Linked DNA regions of Homo sapiens: region 2 is linked to region 1. Evidence: promoter capture Hi-C in 16 types of primary human blood cells and fetal thymus (Javierre and others, 2016). All regions are on one chromosome and are shown on one strand. Each heading gives the region's core, a stretch centred on a gene start or on the middle of the fragment in contact. The rest is flanking DNA. Distances are from core to core; before and after follow the strand shown. Region 1 holds the start of CPN1 (carboxypeptidase N subunit 1). Region 2 overlaps ABCC2 (ATP binding cassette subfamily C member 2).

The links. The method cuts DNA at HindIII sites, captures the fragments that hold promoters and counts their contacts. A CHiCAGO score of 5 or more calls a contact.
Region 2: a contact is called between a fragment that was not itself captured here and the fragment with the promoter of CPN1 in region 1, in 1 of 17 cell types (neutrophils). The highest score is 6.1, in neutrophils.

The regions. Positions count from the first base shown.
Region 1 is chr10:100,080,397-100,083,687 of GRCh38, reverse strand. It overlaps CPN1 (carboxypeptidase N subunit 1), which reads left to right and starts at 1,819. Exons shown (of 9, transcript NM_001308.3): 1 at 1,819-2,285. The coding sequence starts at 2,063. The HindIII fragment of the contact is 7,883 bases long and covers 1-3,291 here.
Region 2 is chr10:99,811,055-99,814,345 of GRCh38, reverse strand. ABCC2 (ATP binding cassette subfamily C member 2) reads right to left here. Exons shown (of 32, transcript NM_000392.5): 15 at 2,744-2,810; 16 at 1,202-1,328. Among named protein-coding and RNA genes, the nearest start is that of ABCC2, 30 kb to the right of the region's middle. The HindIII fragment of the contact is 6,218 bases long and covers 1-3,291 here.

The DNA.
Region 1 (3,291 bases), core at 570-3,069:
CAGGAATGGAATTGTTGAGTTGTATGGTAAATTTATATTTAATTCTTTCAGAGGGCTGTACTTATTTTTTATTCCCTTTTAAAAACAGCTTTATTGAGATACAATTTGCATATCATAGAATTCATCTGTTTTAAGTATGCAATTCAATGAATTTTAGTATATTTATCGAGTTGTATAGACATCACCATCACCACAATCTAATTTTAGAACATTTCTATCACTCTAAAAAGAAATTTTGTGTCCACTTGTGGTGTTTTGGGTCTGGCTTCTTTTACCAGGCATGTGTAAGATTCATTCACATTGTACAATATATTAGCACTCCACTCCTTTTTATTGTCAAATACTATTTCATTGTATGGATATGCCATATTTTGTTTATCCGCTCAGTGGTTAATGGACATTTGGGTTGTTTCCACTTTTTGTCTCTTGTGAACAATACTGCTATGGACATTTATGTACAAGTTTTTGTGTGGATGTGTGTTTTCATTTCTCTTGCATAGGTACCTAGGAGTGAAACTGTTGTATTATATAGTAAGTATATATTTAACCTTGTAAGAAACTGCTAAACTGTTTTCCAAACTGGCTGTACTATTTATTTGTTTATCTTTATTTTTTATTTTTTTTGAGATGGAGTCTCGCTCTGTCACCAAGCTGGAGTGCAGTGGCGTGATCTCAGCTCACTGCAACCTCCTCCTCTCAGGTTCAAGCAATTCTCCTGCCTCAGACTCCTGAGTAGCTGGGACTACAGGCGTGTGCCACCATGCCCAGCTAATTTTTGTATTTTTAGTAGAGAGGGGGTTTTGCCATGTTTGCCAGGATGATCTCGATCTCTTGACCTCGTGATCCACCTGCCTCGGCCTCTCAAAGTCCTGGGCTACAGGCATGAGCCACTGCACCTGGTCTGGCTGCACTATTTATGAGGGTTCCAGTTTCTCCCTATTCTCACCAACATTTGTTATTGTCTGTCTTTTTTATTGTAGCCATTCTAGTGGAGGTAAAGTATATTTCATGTGTGATTTTTGTTTGTTTGTTTTTTGAGATGAGGTCTCACTCTGTTGCCCAGGCTGGAGTGTAGTGGCATGATCATGGCTCACTTCAGGCCCCACCACCCAGGTTCAAGTGATTCTCTGCCTCAGCCTCCCTAGTAGCTGGAACTACAGGCATGCCATCACACCCAGCTAATTTTAAAAATATTTGTAGAGGTGGGGTCTTGCTATGTTGCCCAGGCTGATCTCAAACTCCTGGGCTCAAGTGATCCTCCCAATTTGGCCTCCCAAAGTGCTGAGATTATAGGCATGAGCCACCATGACTGGATCTCATGTGGTTTTAATTTGTATTTCCTTAATGACTAATGACACTGAACATCTTTAAATGTGCTTATTAGCCATTTGTATATCTATTTTGGTCAAATGTTTTGCCCATGTTTTAATTGGGTTGTTTGTTTTCTTATTGTATTGTAAGGATTCTTTACGTATTATGGGGGTATTATCGGATACATGATTTACAATTGTTTTCTCCCAGTCCGAGGCTAATCTTTTCCTTTTCTTAATGGCATCTGTTGAAAGATTTTTGAGGAAAAAAAGGACAAAATACAGCCATGCTTCAGAAAGATAGGCAGGCAGCAGTACGTGGGATGGATCAAAAGGGACAGAGAACTCTTTTTGAAAGTTGTAATAAAAGGAACAGGCACAGGCCAAGTTTTAAAAAATTCTCCAGGAATCAAAGGGTTATAAGCAGCTATTTATTGAAGCCTGTTTACAGTCCAGTTAACCAGTAAACCAGAATCAGTGAAACTACCCATCTGGGGAAGTGCAAAAAACCTTTCAAAAGGCTTTCCTGGATTAGAGAAAGAAAGGGAGTGAGGGAGGAGAGATGAGTGGCTATTCCAGAACGACATAAAGAATTTCCAGCCTTGGACGGACAGCTGGGAACGTCTTCCAATTTGGACTGGTGTTTACAAGCGGGAAGCTAGGTGGACCTTGGATTTTGGCGGGTGAAGAGGCTAGGTTGTTTAAGGAGGTGGGGCGCGTTTCAGTGGCTCTCTTTGAAAAAGCCCAGCAAGATGTCAGACCTGCTCTCAGTCTTCCTCCACCTCCTCCTTCTCTTCAAGTTGGTTGCCCCGGTGACCTTTCGCCACCACCGCTATGATGATCTTGTGCGGACGCTGTACAAGGTGCAAAACGAATGCCCCGGCATCACGCGGGTCTACAGCATTGGGCGCAGCGTGGAGGGGAGACACCTCTACGTGCTGGAGTTCAGCGACCACCCTGGAATCCACGAGCCCTGTAAGTTCTGAACAGCTCTTGAGGGTGTGTGGGGCAGGGCCTTTCCCTTGCAAATCCAGTAATTGGAGTGGTTTCTGGGGTGGTCCGTGGACGCCTCCGCCTACAAGGTATTATCTCTTTCTCAGCCTGTGCTATTTCCCTCTTAGCCCTCAAACTGCCACTGCCTCTGGGGAGCTATAACCCTCCTTCAGCCTTCAGATCTTTCCTCCTTTTTGGGTTCTGTTTGCTCAAAACTTTAATGGTAAAAGATGAGTCTTCTTCCCTGCTCATGTCCCATATCCCTTCATTTCCCCCATTTCCTTTCTTTTCCCCTTACTATTGTTCTGTCTTTCCCCACCCAATGGCTCAGGAGACATAGGCAAAAACAATGAGCCCTTCTAGTTCTGCCAGGAAACTTAGAAGGGTATAGGGGAATCTCTTCGGGGAGTGACAGTGTGGTATTCCAGAGAGAGTTTGGGGACTTGGGTGTCAGTTTTATTTACTGGATTCTTTTTTATTTTTTATTTTTTTGAGACGGGGTCTGGCTCTGTTGCCCAGGCTGGAATGCAGTGGCATGATCTCAGCTCACTGCAGCCTCCACCTCCTGGGCTCAGGTGATCCTTTCCCCTCAGCCTCCTAGGTAGCTGGGACCACAGGCATGCACCAATACGCCCGGCTAATTTTTGTATTTTTAGTAGAGACAGGGTTTCATCATGTTAACCAGGCTAATCTCAAACTCCTGGGCTCAGGCGATCCACCCACCTTGGCCTCCCAGTGTTGGGATTACAGGCGTGAGCCACCGCACTTAGCCTGGATTCCTTTTTTTAGTTTGTTTCTACTGTAAAAGCAATCCATGTTTGGATTAAAATTTAGAGATTAGATAAGGAAAAAAAATAATAAAACTCACCCCAAATCCCACCACTGTTAATGTATTGATGTATATCCTTCCAGACTTTTTTCTATGCATATTTAAACCCTGACTCAAACACATGTAATTGTTTCTATAAAAATGAAATTGTATTATAAC
Region 2 (3,291 bases), core at 311-2,810, 270 kb after region 1:
TATATATACATGTGTGTATACATACGTGTGTATATACATGTGTGTATACATACGTGTGTGTATACATACGTGTGTATACATACGTGTGTATACATACGTGTGTGCATATATACACATGTGTGTATATATACACATGTGTGTATATATACACATGTGTGTATACATACATGTGTGTATATATACGTGTGTATACATACATGTGTGTATATATACACACATATGTGTGTATATACACATATGTGTGTATATATATGTGTATATACACATACACATATATATATACAAAATTGATGAAGAAGACAACACCCTACACCAGATTTTTATTTTGGAAGCAAATGCCATCAAAGATTTAGCTCTCAAAGGAGGAAGAGAAAGGCCCAAGAGTAATTGCAATGTTGGGTGCAAATGCCAGTGATGATTGTACAATCTACTGTTTTTATTGCTCTTGATATTACTGTTATGGTTGGTATTGTTTCTGTTGGTAGTTTGGTTACAAAGTTATATAAGTTTTTAGTGATCTATTACAATTCTTTTCCCCTAGGTCCTGTTATTTTTATTGTACAGTTTTGCAGGATGCATGATTTTTCAGAAACAAATACATAGATAAAGCAGAAATGCCTATACTTTTTTTTTTTTGAGACAGAGTCTCTCTCTGTCACTCAGGCTGGAGTGCAGTGGCATGATCTTGGCTCACTGCAGCCCTCCTGGGCCCAAGTGATTCTCATGCCTCAGCCTCCCAAGTAGCTGGGATAACAGGCACATGCCACCACACCCGGCTAATTTTGTATTTTTAGTAGAGACAGAGTTTCACCATGTTGACCAGGCTGGTCTCGAACTCCTGACCTCAGGTGATCTGCCTGCCTCGGCCTCTCAAAGTGCTGGGATTATAGGCGTGAGCCACCGTGCCTGGCCAGAAATGCCTATATTTTGAAGGAAGACCTCTCTAATCAGCAGTTTTCACACTGTAGTATGCGTATGAGAATCACCTTTAGAGCTCATTAAAAATGCAGATTCCCAAATCTTACCCCCAGCAACTGATTATATAAAGCTGAAATGGGAAGGAGAATCACAGTCCACAAATCTATCGGATGTCTCCAAGACCTCACCTACTAGCCCTCAGTGCCTTCTCCCCAGTGAGGCAAAAGCACGAAGCTGCTGACATTCGGGAGTCAGAGGCTTTTGCATTGGCATTCCCTCTCACCTTGATGGTGATGTGCCCGTGGACATTTTCCATTTCTCCCAGCATGGCTGATATCAAGGAGGATTTCCCAGAGCCGACAGGGCCTATCACAGCCACAAGTTGGCCTGCCATAATGTCCAGGTTCACACTGAAAGACAGGAATGTCTTTGAAGGAGATAGCAGGGGTTGGGTATTGAAGAGTAGTTCAAGTCACTTCTCTGAGTCTCCATGAAGTCTGGTATCAGGAGATTTCCCCTCAAGATTGGAAAATTTGCCTTGGATATACAAGACCCCAAAGTGCTTCTTTAATACTTTTTCTTTTTCTTTTCTTAGCTCTAAAAGGCTAGAGAATGAGCCCTAATGAGCCCTAATTTATCCAACTCATCTATAAGCTGTTTGTGACAAATGTGCATTTCCAATGATAAAATTCTCCTAGAACTAACATGGTTACCCATTGAACAAGACCCTAGTGGGGGCCTGGAGACCTGGCTTGGTTCAAGTCCCAACCCTGACACTGCTGGTCTATGTTATCTTGGAAGGTCACTTCCTTTGGACTAAGGACCCCTCCTTTCTTACTAATGGGATTGGACTAGATTAACATTTCCCAAATTAGGTACTAAATGTGTCACCTGGAACATTTGCTGAAAGTAGATTCCCTGGCCCTTCTCCTAAATATTTGACTGTATCTGGCTGAGTAGGGGCCCACAATGGGATAGGTTCCCGGAAACTGTGTGTGCCAGCCCTGTTATTTGAGTTTCTAGAACATTAGGAACATTAGGAACTTGTTCACAGTCTTTCTGAATCTGCGCATTGAGGTGAATTTCTTCCAGACCTATAACAGTGAAGTGGAAGCCCTGCCCAGTTTCCTCTCTGGAAAGGGAAACTGCTGGGTTAGGAAGGTTCAGAGCATGTGCTCCTGCCCCAACTCATCCTGGGGCTAGCTCTGGAGTCCATGTTAAAGGCTGTAGGAACAAGATAGAGGAGTGGGAAGTCAGGAGTATAGTAAGGAGACAGTAAGATGTGCTCAGTTGTGAAGAAACAAAGATATGGCCTATTCAGCCTCCTGGTGTACTCTGTGTGCTGTGCTCAGTGGATGAATTGGGTGTGCTATTACACATGGTGCTTAAGAGACACACTATGTGCAGAAGATACACACTGAGAAGCCAGATTCCAATGTTCCTGATTGCTATTCTTGAATGAATGAACTTATACTGAATTCAGGTTCTTGGGTTTGTCTTCTACCATACCCAGAGACGCCGGCCACCTGCCAACGCTGCACTACCTCCATCCACAATCTGCACACACAAATGTCTTCATGGGATCACAGCTGGATATTCATGGCCCCATAGTAGGAAAGCAGCATGGCAAATGCAGTTATCAGGGGAAGGGGCTGAGAACCTTTGCTTTCAGCTCATCTCTCCAGGGGTTTATCCTGCACTAGTATCTAACCGAAGACATGCACATAGCTCATTTCCCCATGCATTCTATTACATGGAATTTTCTGAGAATAGGCCAGGCAGTGAGAATGCTAAAGAACATTAGGATGGAAAGAAGGCAACTCACTCTCGGACTGTGGCTTCCGAATCATGTTCCCAGGTAAAGGAGGCCTCAGAAAACTGCATGGCTTTGTCTGTTGAGAAAAAGCCCTCTTTTAGTCCAATGTAGGTCCCCACGTGACTGTCTGCCCTCACGTGTCTCTCTCCGCTTTCTCCATCAGCTCCTAGGATTGTTTCTGCTAAGTGCTGGCTCCTACGCTAACAGGAGGTGAATGAAATCTCCTAGAATGAGACCATGAGACCAGAAGTGGCCTGCATATGAAGTCCTTTTTTTTTTTTTGAGTCATGGTCTCACTTTGTCACCCAGGATGGAGTGCAGTGGTGCAATCTTGGCTGACTGCCGCCTTGACTTTCCGGGCTCAAGAGATTCTCCGACCTCAGCCTCCAGGTAGCTGGGACTACAGGCATGCACCACCATGCCCCGCTAATTTTTGTATTTTTAGTAGAGACAGGGTTTCACCATGTCACCCAGGCTAGTCTCGAACTCTTGGACTCAAGCAATCTGCCCATCTCAGCCTCCCAAAGGGTGAGGATTACAGGTATGAGACACTGCAT